Linked DNA regions of Homo sapiens: regions 1 and 3 are each linked to region 2. The links are contacts of gene promoters, found by promoter capture Hi-C in blood cells and fetal thymus (Javierre and others, 2016). All regions are on one chromosome and are shown on one strand. The core of a region is centred on a gene start or on the middle of the fragment in contact, and the rest is flanking DNA. Distances in the headings are between cores, read along the strand shown. Region 1 overlaps LINC02389 (long intergenic non-protein coding RNA 2389). Region 2 holds the start of HMGA2 (high mobility group AT-hook 2). Region 3 overlaps MSRB3 (methionine sulfoxide reductase B3).

Evidence for each region. Contacts are between HindIII fragments. The CHiCAGO score rates a contact against its expected background, and 5 or more counts as called.
Region 1: a contact is called between a fragment that was not itself captured here and the fragment with the promoter of HMGA2 in region 2, in 1 of 17 cell types (naive B cells). The highest score is 5.3, in naive B cells.
Region 3: a fragment that was not itself captured here is called in contact with the fragment with the promoter of HMGA2 in region 2 in 2 of 17 cell types (megakaryocytes and endothelial precursors); the score reaches 9.6 in megakaryocytes.

The regions. Positions count from the first base shown.
Region 1 is chr12:64,887,420-64,890,801 of GRCh38, reverse strand. All of the region lies in intron 1 of LINC02389 (long intergenic non-protein coding RNA 2389), which reads right to left. Among named protein-coding and RNA genes, the nearest start is that of LINC02389, 5.3 kb to the right of the region's middle. RefSeq lists enhancers at 665-1,306, 1,307-1,949. The HindIII fragment of the contact is 2,931 bases long and covers 227-3,157 here.
Region 2 is chr12:65,822,898-65,826,039 of GRCh38, reverse strand. It overlaps HMGA2 (high mobility group AT-hook 2), which reads right to left and starts at 1,557. Exons shown (of 5, transcript NM_003483.6): 1 at 659-1,557. The coding sequence starts at 769. It also overlaps the pseudogene RPSAP52. RefSeq lists an enhancer at 1-437. The HindIII fragment of the contact is 7,944 bases long and covers 1-3,142 here.
Region 3 is chr12:65,299,502-65,302,668 of GRCh38, reverse strand. All of the region lies in intron 1 of MSRB3 (methionine sulfoxide reductase B3), which reads right to left. Among named protein-coding and RNA genes, the nearest start is that of MSRB3, 22 kb to the right of the region's middle. The HindIII fragment of the contact is 1,393 bases long and covers 646-2,038 here.

The sequences.
Region 1 (3,382 bases), core at 443-2,942, 940 kb after region 2:
CAGATCCACCAAGTTGCTGCTAGTCTCTGTTGCACAAACCAAACCATTGTACATCATATACAGTGCCCAGCGTTTGCTTATTATATGGTGAGAACCTTAAGACACTTGTGAAACAAAATTCCCTCCGCTGATTTTTATGATTTTTTTTCTCTTATAGTTGTCTCTCTCACCTTTTATTCAATGATGCTTTTTTGGTAACTCAGTTTTATCGAGCCTTTCCAAAGCTTTCATCTTAGATTTTATAGGAACGGCAACTCTTTCTCTTTGTACTCATATTTCATCTGTTTATTAACTATCTGATCAAATACAAATCCTCCAAACATAAACAGGAACAAATGAAATGGAAGGAAGATGTTTATTTCGATAAGGCTTACCTATGTTCATTTTTTTCCTAAGCCAGGGGGCAGGAGTATTTTTAAATCTGATTTAAATTTCCAACGTCCACTGCAATTATTTCATTTCACCTCTCTCTCTCTTTCCTGCAGCGCAATTTCCCCCACCTCCTTCACTTACAGCCCAAACTCCCATCTCCTGTTCAAATGGAGTAGAGATTCCGTCACTCTCTCCCACCTCTACCTGCTGTACTTCCCCACACCAGCTTCTCAACATTCCTGTTTCTTCAGCCTTCCTTCTTATCTCAAAGAAGAGGAAGCTCCCAAGTGTGCATTTACCATTTGGTGTTTGCCTTTCGTTCACCCAACTGTCCTTCCCTGCGGGACTTTAAACTCCGTGAGGGAAGGAATGTGACTTTACTGGTCTGTGAAGCTCCAGAATCCCATCCTGGCCTGAGAACATTGCTCTTAGTGTCAATAATATGAGGTCATGGCTCACTGGAGAATCGGGATAACACCGAGGAGAGTGGTTAGTCATGCCTTTGGGAGACCTTGAGGAACACAGGTCGTCTACCAGGAGAAGCCGTAATGTCATGTCCAACTCCAGCTCAGAGTTTTGTGAACTCAGTTGTAACTACGATTTTTCAGTTCCCAAATACCTTGTCAGTTCTCCCTTCACATGGCAAAACACAGTGTGTTAACTAAGGAAGCCAAGCAGCAAACCCATGGTGTCTCTTACTCTGACAGTCCACCCTATCCCTTGACACTATCCCAGACTTTTGACTTGAAAGCGTAGCCTAACACCTTTAAAGAACCAAGGCTAATGAAGTTTGCATATCTTTAGGGAAGTCCAAGTGCCTTTCACTGGGCCATCAAGTGCTATTGGCAAGAAAGATAAGGCAATAGGAGAGCCAATGTAAAGCAATTTGTTAAGATAATAGAAGAAATGGAAAGGCATTATGCTAATGTTCGCAAATGTATGCCCAATTAAGGCAAATCTGCCTTGGGGCGATAATGCCTGATCCCTGCATTGGACAGAAAGGAATATTTGGAAGTTTTTCTGCCAGCCTAGTCAAATTCAATTCTGTGTGAATATTAGCCCTTGTGAGTAATAACAGACCTCTTTAGCATCCACTAATTCATATTCTTTAACACACCATCATTTTTCCCTCAGATTAGAAACATACTTTTTTTTCTCTTTAGGCTAAAACATGCCATTGTTCTGACGTCCTTTCCGGCTTTATCTAAGAGTGAAAAACAATGCCAAGCGGCCCTTGCCTCTTTCATACACCATGCCCATTAGCTGTACCCCTGTTAATGGGTCTTGGCTTCCATTTCCTGCAAAACTATGACTTTTTAATAATCATGGCCCTTTTGTTCCCAAAGCAACTTAAAAGAGGAGGGACACCAGTGTGGGTCACTGTATTTTAGGATCTAGTTGCCCATGTGGTGTGCACACACCATGAGAGGCCAGCAGTTGTTCCAGTCCAACCCTGACTCTGAGAGAGAAAGATTTTCTGAGTGTCTGTAGTACAATATCCTCTCCCGTTGCCTCCCAGATCACAATCTTCCATTACATCACATTAGTGCAGTGGTTTGGGGGTTGGGGGGACAGGCTTTTAGAAGGACCGTCACCAAGTGGTTAAGAATAAGGGAGCTACAGCCACACACCCAGGTTCAATTTCATCCTCTGCCACTCTCTGGCTCTATGACCTTGAGAAAGTAACATCCTCTCCAAGCTCCAGTTTCCTCATCTATTGCAGAAGAAGGAACACTAAAGCCAGGCGTGGTGGCACGCGCCTGTAGTCCCAGCATTTTGGGAGGCCAAGGCAGGAGGATCACTTGAGCCCAGGAGTTCAAGATTACACCGAGCTATGATTGTGCCACTGCACTTCAGCCTGCGTGGAAAAGTGAGACCCTGTCTCTTAAAAATAAAAGAAGAAACACTGGTATTTACTCTGAGGGGTGGTTATGAGAATTAAAGGAGGCAATCCATGTAAGGCTCTTAGCACAGTGCCTGTCAAACAGGAAGCACTCAATAAATATTAATTGTTATTTTGTGTTTATCTTCCTTCACTATCCCATAGACTCATAATTCTCAAAATTTATGGTCTCTAAACCTCTTTAGACAAGATTTAAACTTAACATAAGCTCTCAAAAATTATGAGGACCCTAAAGAGCTTATACATGATATCTTTTATTTAGTGTATTATAAGTAAAGTCAAAATATTTTAATTCTTTTAAAAATACAATAAATCCATTATCATAAATAAGATTCTATGAAAAATAACCACATTTTCCAAAACAAAAATATTTGGTGAAAGAGCAGTATTGCTTTACATTTTTGCAAATCTCTTTCCTATGTGGTTTAATAGAAGACAGCTGGGTTCTCCTATCTGCTCCTGCATTCAAGCTGTTGTGATATCACACATTATGCAGCCTCTGAAAACCTCCTTGTATACTTGTGAGAAAATGGGAGTGAAAAAGGCAAATCACGCCCTGATGTTGCTATGAAAATAGTATGACCTCTCGGACTTTATGAAAGAACCCTGGAGCAGTGTCCAGATTTTCTGATGTCAATATCAGCACCGCAGAGTCTCAAGTTCCAAGTCAGTTCATTGTTGGAGTTGGGAGAATTTTCCCAGACTATAAGGCCAACAGAATTGGATGTGAAAACAACTGCTGGTGCAACTGTGACTAGGCCCTAATTAAATGAGGCAGGAAAACCCTTAATCCCAACCTCACCATATACCCTCCGGTTCAGAAACTCAGGCCTGAGCCATGCAGAAGCCAGACCCCTGTTGTTCTGCCATTTGGATGAAGCTTGTTTGTGAATAAAATACTGGAATCCATCCATTTCTCCGGATTGAACATTAGCAACTGTTTTTTTTAATTGCTTTTCTTGTTTTTGTTTTTTTAATTTGTTTTAGAAGACAGTCAATTCAAAAAAAATTTTCTTGATGTAATTCCTTTTTCAAAAATTATCTTTTTAAATTCTGGAAATCCAATGTTTATGACTTAAGCCTTGTTATTTTTATACTATTAAAGGT
Region 2 (3,142 bases), core at 308-2,807:
AGCCCCTGCCCCGGGCTCCCTCCGGCGGCCGCCGCATATTTAAAGAGCCCAAAAAGGACCAGGCAGCCGGGTCTCCATGCGTTCTTTGTCGGGAGGGCGCGAGTCTTGGGCCACCGAGAGCTTGGAGGAGGGCGCCAAGGGGGCGGCTGCGGCGCGCCAGCCCCCGACCCGCGAGCAGCCCCGGGAGGCGGGAGAAAGAGCCTCCGGCCCCCAAGACTCTAGCCCCTTCAGCCCAGATCGGCCGAAGCGCCCGGGTCCCCGGCACCTCCTTCCTCCCGGGCAGTTGCAAAAGCAACTCGGAAAGCGCCTGCGAGCCCGGGTTTGTCGGATCCCGGTCGCTTCCAGTCACTGGGCGACACCGCGCCACTCGGGGCCGTGCACAATAGCGAAAGTCCGAGGACGCGCTTCGCCCGACCCCACCTCCCGCCTTCCCCGGGCCGCCCGCCGCGGCTCCCCACCTCCCCGCCCGGAGGGTTGCTGGCGCCCCGGGGCCGCGCGGCGCACTCGTGGGGTCTGCGCCGCTCCCCCCGGCCGGCCGGCGGGCAGTGTGCGACGGCCGCGGCGACTGGGCTCCCGCACTCCGGCCGCCCCGCGCGTGTCTGGGCCCCGGCAGTGGGGACGGGGTGGGCTGGTGCCCCCACCGCGCCCTCGTACTGACTTGCTGCTGCTTCCTGGGGCGGCCGCGTCCTCTCTTCTGAGGCGCTGGGGCGGCAGGTTGTCCCTGGGCTGAAGTGGACGGCTGCCCCGCGCCCTCACCGCGTGCGCTCATCCTGCCTCCCGCCGCCGCTACCGCCGCTGCAGCCGCTTCGCCTCGACCGCCCCGGAGCTGCCCAGCACCTTTCGGGAGATGAGGTGATAGGGCTGGGGACGCCGGCGGGGCGAGCGCGAGCTGGCGGGCTGCGAGGGCTGCTGTTGCTTAGGCTGCCGCCGCTGCCACCATCAACACCGGACGTCCAGCGGCTGCCAAAAAGAGAAGAGGGGAGGAGGAGGAGGAGAGGAGGAGGCGCTGCCGGTGGCGGCGGCGGCGGTGGGTGGGTGCCGGAGGTGGAGGTGGCGGTGGAGGTGGAGGTAGCAAGAGGAGGAGGGAAGCGAGGGAGAAGGAAGAGAGGCTTTGAGGTCGCAGAGGCTCCTCTCGCGGGTTGGGATCAGGAGTTGCGGGCACCGGGAGCACTTCGGAAGCGGCTTGGAAAGGGAAGAGACTTGGAGTGAATTGTGTCCCTTGAAATGTTAGGCGGGGAAAGAATTCCTCCTCCTCTTCCCCCCACCCTGCGAGAGAGAGAGAGAGAGAGAGAGAGAGAGAGAGAGAGAGAGAGAGAGAGAGAGAGAAGAGATTGAGATTGAAAGTGCCTTGGGCAGTCGGAAAGCAAAGGAGGATGGGGAGACTCCGCCGGGATAGGGTCGGGCACGGAGCACAGGCAGAGGACAGAGTAGTGGGTGGCACCGCGCCTCCTAGGGTGGCGGGAGCAGGCAGCGGCGGCACCGGAGAGTCGGAGGGGGACGGGCTGCTAGCTCCTGAGTCTTGCACCAAGCGCGCGCTGCCCGGGCTGGAAGTTTTCTGAGTTCCTGCCCCAAGATTCAAGTGGGATGAGTGTGTGTGAGTGTGTGTGAGTGTGAGTGTGTGTGGTGTGTGTGCGTGCACGCGCTTGCGCTTGGGGAGGGGGTGGTGGTGGGGGGAGTGCCCACCTCTAATCGTGGGCGGATAAAGGGGAGGGGGTTGCGCAGGAAGAAAAGTATGAGGAGGAGGGAGGCCAGGCGGACCGCCGAGCCAAGGCGCCTGGCTGCTAGCCAGAGGCAGCGTTCGAAATACAACTGCCTCGGCGGCGGCGGCGCCCGGGTGCCACCCGGAGCCCCGCTCACGTGCTCCCGCCCGGCGGCGGGGTTAAAGGGACAGGCCGGGGATCCCGGGCTGGCTCGCCGTGGGCCTAGCTCCACCCGCCTCTCGAGGTCACCCCTGGGCAGTTGTCCTGGGAAGGCGCGGGAACGTGACTGTCCCGGAGCCACGTTTCGGGGCTTGGCCTTTACCTGCGCCTCTACCGTGCCGAGCCAACACTTTGCAGGAAGCGTCTAGGCTGCACCTCAGGCAGCGCACCGGTTCACTGTGAGTGGGAAGGGACTGCAGTGGAGTGGGAGAGGTCCCCTGACAGCCGTACTCCGCCTCGGAATGCCCTCACCACAGAGCCTGCGGGCGGGCGAGCGCGCACATACACGGAGACATGCATGCAGATACACACGAACACGCGTGTAAGCACATGCACGCAGATACACGTGGACACGGGGGCATTCATGCGCTGGTAAACACCCGCATTTACACACACACACATACACACAGGCACGCAGATAGACATGCACATTCGCAGACACATGCAAACAATGTGCACACACAGAGCGCCCCAGCTTCTTCATTGAACTTTTTTCTCCAGGAAAGACTAGAGGCAACCGAAGTTCCCTCCCCATCCCCCTCCCCGGGAATCCGATGTTCCCAGGGTAAAGGGCACCTTGTAGATTCCTAACACCACAATTGCACTCACTGCCCAACTCTCCCTTCAGTTTACCTCGATTTAACCTTCTGCCTGAGAACTCTCTTTCTGCCAAGTCCTAATTTTATGGCCTGGGCTGTTCTGAGTTATGTGAACACCATAATGGCCACAGTCCGTTTTTAAAAGGTGGAGTACATTTTTAAATGTACCTCTTTTCATCCTTGAATAACACAAAACTCTGAAAAAATTAGGTTCAGATTTTCACACATCACACCCAAAATTATTTTGGACTAATTCCAAAATAAAAACTTTCACCTGGGGAAGAATTTATTTTTTTCAAAGATACAGACCACCGTGGAATAAAAACGCCTACTTTGCAGCCCTAAGCAGGAGTTAGGCACCGCCAGGTTCCGCTGTGCATGTGGAGGAGGCGCGTGTAAATGTCTGCTTTGGCGCGGCAGCGCTGATTGGTCCGCGTTGCCATTTTAAATCCATTTCCAGCTGCCCTTTGCAGAGCTGGGACACTTTGCTGCACGTTGAGTGCTCTGCAGGAACCCAGGGTTTCTGCTGGGTCTGGGAACGCTTAGCTGTAATGGAGAGAGAGAGCCTCCATCCCTCCGGATGGAGCCCAGCAGCTGACTGGGGAGGGAGGGGTCTAACAGGAA
Region 3 (3,167 bases), core at 93-2,592, 520 kb after region 2:
TTAAACAGAGATCCTTTTGTGATTGTATTTGTTTTAAGAAACAGAATCCTGGCTATTCAGAATGCTTACTCGATCTTTCAAGTGATTTTAAGAGGTAATTTTTTTTAACTTACTCAATTCATCTATATAAATTCCTACTACATGGAAAACAATGTATCAGGTGCTGATGAACATGAAAAGATGTAAGACATAGTCTGTGCTGTTAAAAAACATTAGCTTAAGTGGGAACATTAAGTGGGACATAAGCTAAATGAGTTAACAGGGGTAGAAATTAAGAATTACAGAATTTCACAGGAAAGAGAATTGCTTCCAGCTTTAGGAGAGGGAGTGGCAGGGACATATGGGAGTTTGGTACCAAAGAGAAGCTGTATGAAGGAAGACTTTTTATTTGTATTCTTTCATCTCTATATCTTTACGGTTACCCATTCTCAAACTTTTGGATCTCAGGATTCCTTACACTCCCCAAAATTATCAAGGGCTCCAAATACCTTTTGTTTACATGATTATAAATATCAATATTTACTTATTAAAAATTACAGCTGAGAAACTTTTTAGATATTTGTTTACTCCATTAAAAATAAATAAAAAATAATTTACAAAATGACTATTCTTAAAATAGTAAAACTTTATTTTAACCTGAAAGCTTAAATAATTTATAAAAATGACATTTATAGTGAAAATTAACTATATTACCCAAAATAAAAATATATGTATAATGGAAAGAGTTCTATATTTTTGCAAATCTCTTTTTATTATCTAGCTTAATAGAAAACAACTGAATCCTCATCTCTGCTCCTGCAATCAATGTGTTGTGATACGTTGTTTTGGTTGAAGTACATACGTGAAGAAAATCTAGACTCACACAAATAAGTAGCTGGAAAGTGGAGGAGTATTTTAATAACCTTTTCAGATAATTGTATGTTTTATTCTTTTGTTATCACACCGAAGATCAACAAATGGTAGTCTGAAACCATATCAACGAAATTCTCATACTGTTACATTAAAACCCATTGGTCTATCTTGCGTTTTGAATGGACCTTCTAACCTTCCATGATTTTGTAACATCCTGCACTGTTCCTTTGGAAAACATTGGTTCACCGAGTTATACAGATCTTTCTTATGTTGAAACATTTCGTAACATGGTATCAAAAAACCATACTCATTAATATCATCACTGATTTCATCAGAAAAGTTTTTAAATATTGAGAAGCTGTCAAGCTCACAGTAGGAAATGCAAGTTTTCCAAAATTTCCGTGTAGATTTTACCTATTCTTACAACTTCAACCATCATTTCTTGATAGATGAATACAAAGGTCTAGCACCAACTTTGATCCAAGCTCTAATGCTTTATCTTCTAACATCTACTAGATATCAACTTGCATTTGCACAGTATGTTATTATTTACAAGGCATTTTCGTATATGTTATGATAGTCTTATAACCTTATAATAAAGCCTTTAGTCTCCATATATATTATTTAATATTTGCATGTATACATCTATAATGAGATTAACAATAATCATTTTTGAGCACCTGTACTGTGTGTATGTGTATGTGTGTGTCTGTGTGTGTGTATATATGTGTGTAACCTCATTTAATCCTCACATCAACCCTGAGCTAGGTACTCCTATAGGTAGTAGTCATTATTACTCTGTACACAGTATTTCTGGCTCTCCATTTTCCAGGCACGTGGTAGGAATGCACTTCCTGGCCCCCTTGTGGTTGGGTAGGAACATGTGGCTGGCTAGCTCTGGGCAATAAATTGTGAGCAGAAATGATTATGTGTATTGCTTCCAAGCCAGAGTACTTAGCTGTTGGTGTGAGACCCTCCAGGGCTTTCTCTCCCTCTGCAGCAGGGAACAGCAATGTTCTATAATTAGATGGTGGCTGCTCCATTAATCACAATTCTGGGATAAGGAGATACGGGGCAGAGCTCCCATCTGAACCACAGTGAACAAACAGTACAAAGAAGAACTAAACCTTCAGCATTTTAAACCATTGGGATTTGGGGGCTATTTGTTCCAATTGAAACTGAAGCTTAGAGAATTACCTGCTTGAGGTTAAATGGCCAGTAAATTATGGAGCCAGAATTTGAACTAAACTTTATTTTAATCTCTTCTACTACATTCCAAACTCCTCAAGGGCAGGGGCCCTTGTGCCCCCAGATTGATGTCCTTGTTTTAGAAAACAACAGAGTCTGGAAGGATGAGAAGTCTAATGCCAAGGACAGTGAGACCACTTCCAAAAGTCTATAGTTTCTCTCTCATTAGTCATCCCTTCTATCCTAAATATCCCAAAGAGATTCTTAATTTAGTCAGAAGATACGGCTGCCCTCTCATATTCCCACATTAAAGGCCAGGAGACAGCTACTTGACTTTGATCACTCAGAGCTCATAAACTTGTCTCAACACCAAAAACTAAAGATTTTCCTCAGCTGCAAAAGTGACTGAGTAGCTTCTGGTCACAATAAAATGACGATGTGAAGATCTTATTTCCTGAAGCAATTGAAAGTTTATTGGACACTAAGCACATTCACTGTAGAAAGCTAGTGATCTAGCAAGTCAATGCCTAAATCCAGACCTTACAGATACAACTTTTGATTTTAAATCAATCAACAAATACAAGGAAAATCAATCCATTTGCCATGATGATAGAAAAATGTCTGTTTCTTTCAACAGCTGAGATCATGACCCTGGAACTAATGAGAAGGAACCACATTAATAGCTCACATTGTGACCTGGAAGTAATCGATGTGCACATAGTCATAACAATATAAGCTTTTAGAGACAACCTATGGACAAATATTTGACTGTGATTTCAGAACAGACTGTAAGCATTAGCAAGTTCACATTGTGAAACAAAAACTATATAGCAACAAAATGTAAAGAAGGCTGGAAAGAAAGGTGGAGGAAAGACTCAGGGTATCAGTGTCCTCCTCTTATAAAGTAGAGGGTTAGAAGACACCAACTAGACTGGAAAACGCTAACTGACCCCTAGAATCCATACTCCCTTCTTCTTATTAGTAATAGAACCCCCTGAAATTTTAACTGAACATACAGCCTCATTTCTCACCTTCCCTTGCAGCTAGATGTGAACATGATACTAAGTTGTGGAAAATGGAATGTAACTCAATGTCATGTATGATCTTTCAGCTCATCTCCTTTAAAG